Linked DNA regions of Homo sapiens: region 1 is linked to region 2. The links are contacts of gene promoters, found by promoter capture Hi-C in blood cells and fetal thymus (Javierre and others, 2016). All regions are on one chromosome and are shown on one strand. Each heading gives the region's core, a stretch centred on a gene start or on the middle of the fragment in contact. The rest is flanking DNA. Distances are from core to core; before and after follow the strand shown. Region 1 holds the start of LOC124902109 (a long non-coding RNA gene). Region 2 holds the start of DOCK8 (dedicator of cytokinesis 8).

What was found. The method cuts DNA at HindIII sites, captures the fragments that hold promoters and counts their contacts. A CHiCAGO score of 5 or more calls a contact.
Region 1: a contact is called between a fragment that was not itself captured here and the fragment with the promoter of DOCK8 in region 2, in 1 of 17 cell types (M0 macrophages). The highest score is 5.7, in M0 macrophages.

Annotation. Positions count from the first base shown.
Region 1 is chr9:760,001-765,113 of GRCh38, reverse strand. It overlaps LOC124902109 (a long non-coding RNA gene), which reads left to right and starts at 3,733. Exons shown (of 4, transcript XR_007061394.1): 1 at 3,733-3,815. RefSeq lists a silencer at 3,391-3,685. The HindIII fragment of the contact is 520 bases long and covers 2,268-2,787 here.
Region 2 is chr9:212,181-216,114 of GRCh38, reverse strand. It overlaps DOCK8 (dedicator of cytokinesis 8), which reads right to left and starts at 1,250. Exons shown (of 48, transcript NM_203447.4): 1 at 1,086-1,250. The coding sequence starts at 1,138. DOCK8-AS1 (DOCK8 antisense RNA 1) reads left to right here and starts at 365. Exons shown (of 1, transcript NR_160804.1): 1 at 365-2,658. RefSeq lists silencers at 776-915, 1,086-1,135, 1,186-1,235, 1,246-1,495. The HindIII fragment of the contact is 3,855 bases long and covers 1-2,994 here.

The DNA of each region.
Region 1 (5,113 bases), core at 1,278-3,777, 550 kb before region 2:
ATAAAGATTGTGGAGACCTAAGTTGTTTTGAAGTCTCATAGTGCTGCCCTTAGAGACAACAGATGACAAATGTTTCTTATTTAGATCTTAGTTAATCTCTTTAGGATTGGGAGGGTCTGGAAGAAAAGGATCTAGCTGTGTTAATAGATTCTTTACAGATGCAAATTTTCCCCTATACAGAACAGCTTTGCAGGGCCATTACAAAATATGACGAACATGTTTTGGGGTAAAATATTTTGATTTTCTCCCTTGTCTCATGTTATGCCAGAGTCAGTTTGGAAAGTAAGTCACAATATATAGGGCTAATTAAAACCCATCTGATGAGAATTTGTGATTTGTAGGGCGTGATGCCCCAGACCCCTTAGATAGGAGTTTGGGCAAGATAAAAAAACATAATTTAGTCCTCGTGGGGTTTCACCCTGTTGCCCAGGCTGGTCTTGAACTCCTGACCTCAAGTGATCTGCTTGCATCAGCCTCCCAAAGTGCTGAGATTATAGGCCTGAGCCACTGCACCCAGCCTGATCTATGCTTTGCAGGCACTTTATCTGTGATATTTCATTTAATGTTTATAACATCATACCCATTTGGCTTTCTAGAAGCTCAGTGGTTACAAGTCTAGAGACAGGCATTTTTACCATCCATATTCTATAGATGTAGAAACTAGGGCTTAAAAAGGTAAAGTCCCTTGCTCAAAGTCTCGGCTGGTAAACGGGAAGCTAGGAGTCTAAGTTAGGTCTGTCTGGTTCCAGAGCTGCTGCTTTCTGGAACCCTGCAACATGGTGGCGCTTGTTCTCCATTGCAGAGCATTGGGGTTGGTCGTAAGGTGATGGTGATGGCGGTGGCCGTATGGTGGAAGGAACTTCATCCTTCGCAGACCAAGGGATATCGAGGAGAGTGCAATATGCAGATTCAGACACTAGGTGACAGAGTGCCACAGGGCAGACAACTCGCTACGCCTGGGTCTGCGGGGTGTGGTTCTCTCCTGCGTCCTGTATTCTTTTAAATTAAGAAAAGGCTACGCGCTCCTGTAAACCCTGTGGTCTTTTACACTAGGGCCAGGATATGTGCAACTAGATATATGCCCAAACTGTACGTGTTTCTTCCTTTATTGCGAGACATGAAGGAATTAAAGAACGAAAGAGGAAAGGAAAAGAGCAGTGGACTCAATACTGTAAAAGGCAAAGATTCCCTTTAAATTGCTTTTTAGAAAGTTTTTTTCAAAAAGATTTTTAAAGTTTTTTAAAAAGGATTTTAATAAATTATAATGTTTTATTTGGAAACATTTAATATTAAATTTCATTTAATTTCCACTTAGTTTTTAAAATTACTTTTATTTTACTCTGTCGCCCAGGCTGGAGTGCAGTGGTGCCCTCTCCACTTACTGCAACCTCTGCCTCCTCAGCTCACGCGATTCTCCTGCCTCAGATTCCGGAACAGCTGGGATTACAGGCGCCCACCACCATGCCCAGCTCATTTTTTTTGTATTTTCAGTAGAGAGGGAGTTTCGCCATGTTGGCCAGGCTGGTCTCGAACTCCTGATCTCGAGTGATCCGCCTGCCTTGGCCTCCCAAAGTGCTATGATTACGGGCGTGAGCCACTGTGTCCGACCTCCACCTAGTTTTTGAAAGAAGTAGTTCTCTTTCCATTTTTATTTTTTATTTTTTATTTATTTATTTTTGAGACGGGGTATCGCTCTGTCGCCCAAGCTGGAGTGCGCTGGTGCAATCTCGGCTCCCTGCAAGCTCCGCTTCCTGGGTTCACGCCATTCTCCTTCCTCAGCCTCCCGAGTAGCTGGGACTACAAGCGTGAGCCACCACGCCCGGCTAATTTTTTGTATTTTTAGTAGAGATGGGGTTTCACCGTGTTAGCCGGGATGGTCTCGATCTCCTGACCTCGTGATCCACCCGCCTCGGCCTTCCAAAGTGCTGGGATTACAGGCGTGAGCCACTGCGGCCGGCCCCAAAATAGGCTCATCTTTTGATGTTGCCCACAAGTGAATAAAGTTAAGGCAAAAGGTAGGTGTAGTGTAGTTGGCCCTGGAAGCCCGTCTTTTGGCCTTCACCTTACTTTAGGACGAAGTAGGGTCTGTCCAGTGGCCTACAAGAGGAAGTAATTCTGCTTTTTCCAAAGTTGCCTGGAGCATATTTTCAAAAATGAAGACTCTCACTTTAACTATATGAAGTCTGGTGCACACTATTTTGCATGCTGTGATTACTGGTTATTTAAGCTTCATCAATGAAAAGAAACAGCAGAGCAAGAGTCAAGCTTTAGTCTAATAAGAAATGAGAAACAGAAGCTGTCAGCCACCGAATGGGAACGAAGGGGTAGTGAGGCAAGGACATGCCACCTTCCTACTCTACAACTCAGAACCTCACAAGGGAGGCTGTTTTGCCTCTCTAGTTCCATGTTAAGCTGGTTTTAATCTCCATCTTGATTGCCTTCCTTCCAAATGGATGGATGTATTCAGAGAGATTGTCCTGATCCATCCTGATTGTCTGCCAATGTATCTGCTGATGTGGGTAGGGCCACCTGGCATACACTTGCAGGGCCATGCTCTTGTGAATCAGACAGTCACATTGCATGGCAAAGGAGACCTGCATTTGATGTTCAAAAATGAGAGAGCCCAAGGAGCCTCAGCTCTTGGTTGCAACACTGGGGACAAACTATGAATAATAAAGTGAGTGACACAAGGGCTTAAGGTCAGGAACTCCTGTGGCATTTTGGTTTAGCTCAGTTGGAGGTGTGGGAGGAGTGTGATGGAGCTGAACCCAGATTACGGAGGAAGCTTCATCATGCCAGACCGAGCTGAAGCCATTGAGTGGCTTTCAACAGGGAATAACATGACTGTACTGAAAGCGGCAGGGCTGACATTGGGGAGACCAGTTCTGATGACCTTGCAGCAGTCCAGAAGAAATGATGGTGCCCTGAACTGTGTTAGCAGCAGTGGAAGAGGGTGGACCCAAGAGCTGTGGGGAGGAAGAACCTGTAGACTTGACGACCACCTAGCTAACATATTCATGGCAATGAGTCTTGGAAGTTCTACAGCGCACCTGGAGGGATGGTGGGATCAGCGAGGCCAACACTGAGAGAAACGCAGGCGTGGATGCCCTGGCACAACCTCGCAGCAGATCCTAATTCCTGGGAGGACCCCTTTCCTTCCCACATTTGACAAAGACAGTCTACGCAGATTCCCTAGAAAAACCTCCTCGCTGCCCACAGGTTGCTTTTTTTTTTTGTTCCCCATCAGAGCAGCCTGCTGGAACTCAGCAAGGCAGTGGACAATCCAATGGTCGTACCAGCGATTGTCCATACCTGTGGGATAACTAGGAAGACAGTTATTTTTGTGTGAGTGCCTGTGTGCTCTGGGGAGAGATGCCAGTGAGTGAAACTGGAATGAACAACCTGACCTCGAGGAAAAAAATGACCTTATCGTTAACAAAATAGTGAATGCTTCCACAGTGCCTGTTTGTACAGAGTGCTTCACAAGCATGAGCTCATGTGATTTCCTCATCACTTGCTTTTCCAGCTGTAACAGGTTTGGAGAAGGCAGCTGTGGATTCTCTTTAGCTTTTGTTTGAGAGGTTTCTCTCTTCCTGGTCAAGAAGCCACATGACCCGAATGTAACTAGGACGGTGTTGTTGAGCACTTGCTTGTGGACCCCTCTGGGGTCTGCAGATGACTGGCAGGATGCTGGAGCCTGCAGGTTTTGCTAGTTTCCTACTTGCATGGATCCTTTCTTGCCCCAGCTCTGGATAGGTTCCCAGGCTTCATTAGAATTCATGGACGGTTATCTGCAAAGACTTCTGGACAAGAAGGTATAATGGTTCTTTTATGTGTCAATTTGACTGTCAAGGGATGCCCAGAAAGCTGGCACACCTCTGCGTGGGTGTCTCTGAAAGGGATGAGCATTTGAATTGGTGACCGAGTAAAGAAGGCTTTCCTCACCACTGCGGGTGGGTACCATTCAGTCTACGGAGGGCTTGAATAGGACAACAACGTGTAGGAAGATAGAGTTCCCGTTCTGCTTGAGCTGGGACCTCCATCCTCTCCTGCCCTCAGACACTGGCTTCCCTGGTTCTTAGGCCTTTGGGTCTGGGCTGGAGCCACACCCCTGGCTTTCCTGGGCCTCCACCTCACAGATGGCAGACCACAGGACTTCCTGGCCTCAGTAATTGCATATGCCAGTCCCTTGTAGTCGATCACTTTCTATACATCTATATATATCCTATTGGTTCTGCTCCTCTGGAGAGCCCTAATACAATGGAGTATCACAGGAGTGTGTCCCCCAAACCCTATGCTGTGTAGCACCCTGATTCCTGTGGCACCTTTCTTCTGATGTAGGAGATGTTAATACTGGTGGTAAGGTTGAAAATAATTTTTTAAAATGGCTAGACACACAAAGTAGCAGTGTATTTAAACCTTGTCTGCTATTTTAGTAGCATGAGGCATTCCTGAATAAAAAGGAAATAGCAGAAGCAAGCAGGCTGGTCGCTTGGGAAGGGCACCTTGAGGGGCCCTTATCAGAGCTACAGCCCGAGGTACTGTGGCAGGTAAATAAGTTCTGTTCTTGTTGACCGATCAATGGAAGTGTTTAGACTTGCCGGCGAAAACCACAACCTAGAGAACACAGATGGCCCCACTGCAAGGACAAGGAGTCTCTTGGAGCTCAGACTTCCGAATAATACATTTTCTCCACAGCGCCTGGAAACTGTGTTCTTGTTGATTTTCTGGGAGACAGCAAAGCCTCCCTCCTCCTTCCCCTCATCCTCAGGGTGGGAGTGACAGCCTCATCACTTGCATTTTCAAGTAAATCTGGCTTGCAGAAAGCAGCTGTGGATTCTCTTTGGCTTTCTTTCTAGAAGTTTCTGTCTTCCTAGTCAGTGAGTCACATGACTTAAATGTAACAAGGGCATGGTTCTCAGGTGCCTGATGCTTCTGGGCTTTGTAGAGTACTGGCCAAACCCGCCATGGTGGCCATGGTAGGCTGGGGCGTGGGACTCAGGCACGCAGAACACTGCACAGTTGGGTCTTCAAGAGCAAGGGCATCTCCAGAATCAGACTTCTGTGTCCTTAAGCAGGGTCTAGAATGTGTCAGGGAACCAGTTCTGGGCCT
Region 2 (3,934 bases), core at 1-2,500:
GGAAATAAAATCGTCAATAAAGCTCGATATGCCCTCTAGAAGACCTTATCGCCTTGTTTTTCTAGGCTTTTAATTCCTTGTTCAAACCTCTTCACACACTAACAGCACAAAGATGAACCTACGGTGGAATCCACCTTTCACAGGCTCAGCTAAGTGAAGATTAACAAATCGGACAGCCCTGTGGGCAATAGAATAAGTTGACACTTTAGAATGAGTTTCCTATTATCTTTTAACTAGACAGTCTAGCTTTCTCAGGGCAAGACAAAAATGTCCCAATTACTTGTCAGCAGTTTTTAGTGGAGGAAAAACTGCAGTTAAAGCACCTTTACTGAGAACTTTGAGCAGTAAATGTGCTTACATATTTAGTTTGTGCAACTTTGATTAGGAATTGGATGGTGAGTTGGGATCCCCCAGTCCTTAGCTTTTTGCTGGAGTTCTGTAAATCTCAAAATGTCAGCCACAGGCCATTTCTTTTGGTTTATTTAAGTGTAGATTTTTTAAAAAATCACTTTTTCCACTTCATGGCTCCTTTGGACCAGGGTATAAAAATAGCGATGCCACCAGGAGCCAAGCTCTTTCTGGAATAATGAAGCAGGCGAGGACGGAGCCTTGCTCAGGACGACAGAAGGCTTGCAGCCTGCCTCAAACGCAACTCTAATTTCAGCCACTTCACTTCTTCCCCCCGCGCTCAGACTTGCCTCAAAGGAAGGAGCCGTTTATGAGACACTCCGTGGCGCGCCCAACACGGTTACCCAGGCGCCTATCACCCTTCTGGGACCCGGCCACCTGTAAGAACCTGGAGGGCGGAGCGGGCGAGGTTGTTCGGGGAAGGGATCCCCGGCGGCTGAGGACATCCAGGAGCACCGAGATTCTTGGGGAGGACCTCGCCGGGCCCAGCGCAGGAGCCGCCGCGCGTCCAGCGGCTCCACCGCCGCAGCCTCGGGAACCGGGCGCCCCAGGTCTCAGGCGCGCCCCGCCGCGGACGCGAATGGACTCGTCCGGCCTCGGCCCCTGCAGCGAAGCTCCGCTTCACACCAGCGCTGGGCTGTCCGGCCGCAACCTGCGCGCCGCGGGGGGCGTCTTACCTGTTGATCTTGAGCGCGAACGCGCGGCGCTCTGCGCTCGGCAGAGTGGCCATGGCCCGCCGGCGGTTCGGTGGCTTCTAGGGTCGCGGGGTGCGGAAAGCGGGGGCCTGGCGCGCCGCAGAGTAGCCGCGGAACATGCCCAGCCAAGCGCAAACCTCGTCTGTCGGTCGGCGCTGGAAACTTCCGCATTTCCACCTTCTAAGCCGAAATCACCCCGGGGGAGGGTCCGAGCTCGGAGCAGCGACGGCCGGCTCCGCCACCCGGCCTGGCGCGCAGGCAGCGGCGGGCGAGGAGGGCGTGGGCCCAGCGCGGAACTGGCCTCCCGATACTGGGGCAGACGGCGCGCTCTGCCCGGGGCCGCCGACCTCCGGCCGAAGGGAGCGCGGGCGGACGACAGGCGACCACTGCGCGCAGGCCGGAAGCTCCATCTGCCCGAAGCTGCGAGGCTGCCAGGGAATGTAGGCAAGTCGGGGGAGCCCCACAAAGCTGGCGAGGTCGGGAATCACCCCAGGGATTCGTAAGGCTAGGTGTTATTAAGGGTTGACACCATTCTCGAAGAAGGCAGCCAAAAAAAAAGACAAAAAAGTTAGTGGAATCTATCAGGATTCAAATCAACTTTTGCAAGCAATATGCCCATCATCCTTCCTGAGACACTAAATAAATATAATGGATTCATCCAAGGAATAAACATTATGAGTTCTCAAAAAATGTTTTCGTCACAACCTGGCGTGAATGCTTTTCTCCGGAGAAACACTGAAGGCGGCGTTCTTGCGATTCAAGGGTACGCTGCGTCCAGGTTTATTTCAGTTTCAGACTGAGGTCTGCTAAGAAGCCCGGCCTCAAACTCAAGATAAAAACAGAAAAGTCCCAGTGTTGACGGGAGTGGAGGAGCCCGTGTTCGCTTCAAGGTGCCGGCGTGCTGCTCTAACCTGTGCTATATATACTCGAGCACTCTCCATATAATGCCTCCATTTACCAACTTGCTCTTAAAAAATACCAAAGCAGGCCGGGCGCGGTGGCTCACGCCTGTGATCCCAGCACTTTGGGAGGCCGAGGCGGGCGCATCACGAGGTCAGGAGATCGAGACCATCCTGGCCAACGTGGTGAAACCCCGTCTCTACTAAAATACAAAAAATTAGCCGGGCGTGGTGGCGCACGCCTTAGTCCCAGCTACTTGGGAGGCTGAGGCAGGGGAATCACTTGAACCCGGGAGGCGGAGCTTGCAGTGAACCGAGATCTGCCACTGCACTCCAGCCTGGCGACAGAGCAAGTCTCCGTCTAAAAGAAAAAAAAAAAAACAACCAAAGCGAAGTATTTTTGGTTCAAACCTGCACTATTTAATATGATAGCCACTAGCCACATGTGGCTATTGACCACTCGGCATTATGGTTAGTCTGAATTGCCCACTGCTGGATGTGTAAAATGTACACTGGAATTTAAAGACAGCGCAGAAAACATCGTGTAAAATGTCTTGTTAATGATTTTCATGTTGATTGCATGTTAAATGATACTTTGGATATAAAAAATATATTATTAAAGTTAATTTCACCTGTTTGTTTTCCCCTTTTAAAAATGTGGTTTGCATTTTTAAAAATGTAAAATTACACATGTGGCTCACATTTGTGAGCCTCATTATATTCCTATTGGACAGTGCCAGTCCAATACAACCTAATTTGTCACCTAATACTAAAATCCACCTAAGGACTATATTCAGTCTCTTCCTGATACAGCCTTCCTTCCTGGTTTCAGCTGTGTCAGGTAGTTTAGTAACTTTTCAGTACTGGTTAGGTAACTCCCCGCCCCCCAATGCCCACCAAATATCAGTGCCCTTTTAAGCATATAAGACAAAGTTCACTGCATAGACTACAATAGACTACATACGAAAACAAACCCAAAGAAAAATAAAGCTTTTTTGAAATTTAGAGTTTCTGACTTTCAAAACTGTCCTTATTTACTACATTGGAATTTATGAGCAAACATTTGGATAGCAAAATACAAAGAGAACAAATGTGTAAGTACTTCTTCAAACTGAGACTCAACGAATGATACATAGAAAACATTTTGCCCCAGAGGCTTCGGTCCACGGTGTACCATGTCAGCCTTTCGGATGAACTCCTCTGAATTTCTGAATGTTTATGACATACATTTTCATATAGAACAAAAATATACTGGTTTCACACAAACATAAATAAAATGTAATGAAAGCATCTCAGATTTTCAGCATTTGCAATCAAGGAAACTTTTTGGGTGAATGTGGGAATCATAAAACCTTCCATCTTGCCTCAGATCATACTGCAATAGATTTAGTATTTGGTACCTAACCATGAAGGTTAGGCCAGCATTATTATCCTCTGTGCTGTCAATTTCTTGATGGTTAGAATTGTCTCCAGATTTCCTTAACACTCTTTTAACAATTCACCATGAATGTGTTATCCATTAATTTAGTCAAATGCCTGTTTTCAAGTTTGATCTGCTGTTAGATACATTCACATATTGCTGGCAAATAGCCATCCAAGTGCCTTTCTTCCTTATTCTCACTGCCTCTTTCGTTTTCCATCAGCCCTCTGTCCAGAGAGAACTCTGGGAGGCCTCCTTCTTTCCGCATCTGATGGTCTCTCTTGGCCTTCCTCTTTCTCCGTATCTTTGTGTCATTCAATTTTGTTTTTCACCTTTATACAACTCTTCCCTTGACTTCTATCTCAGACCATACATCAATTATCCTAAATGCTCTAGTTTTCCCCACATCTTCTTCTTACCTCCCCAGAAAGCCGACCTCTTTCTCTACATTGCATCTTACCTATTTTATTGAACAAACAACTAAATAACACTTATCTTGTACCGGGTACTGC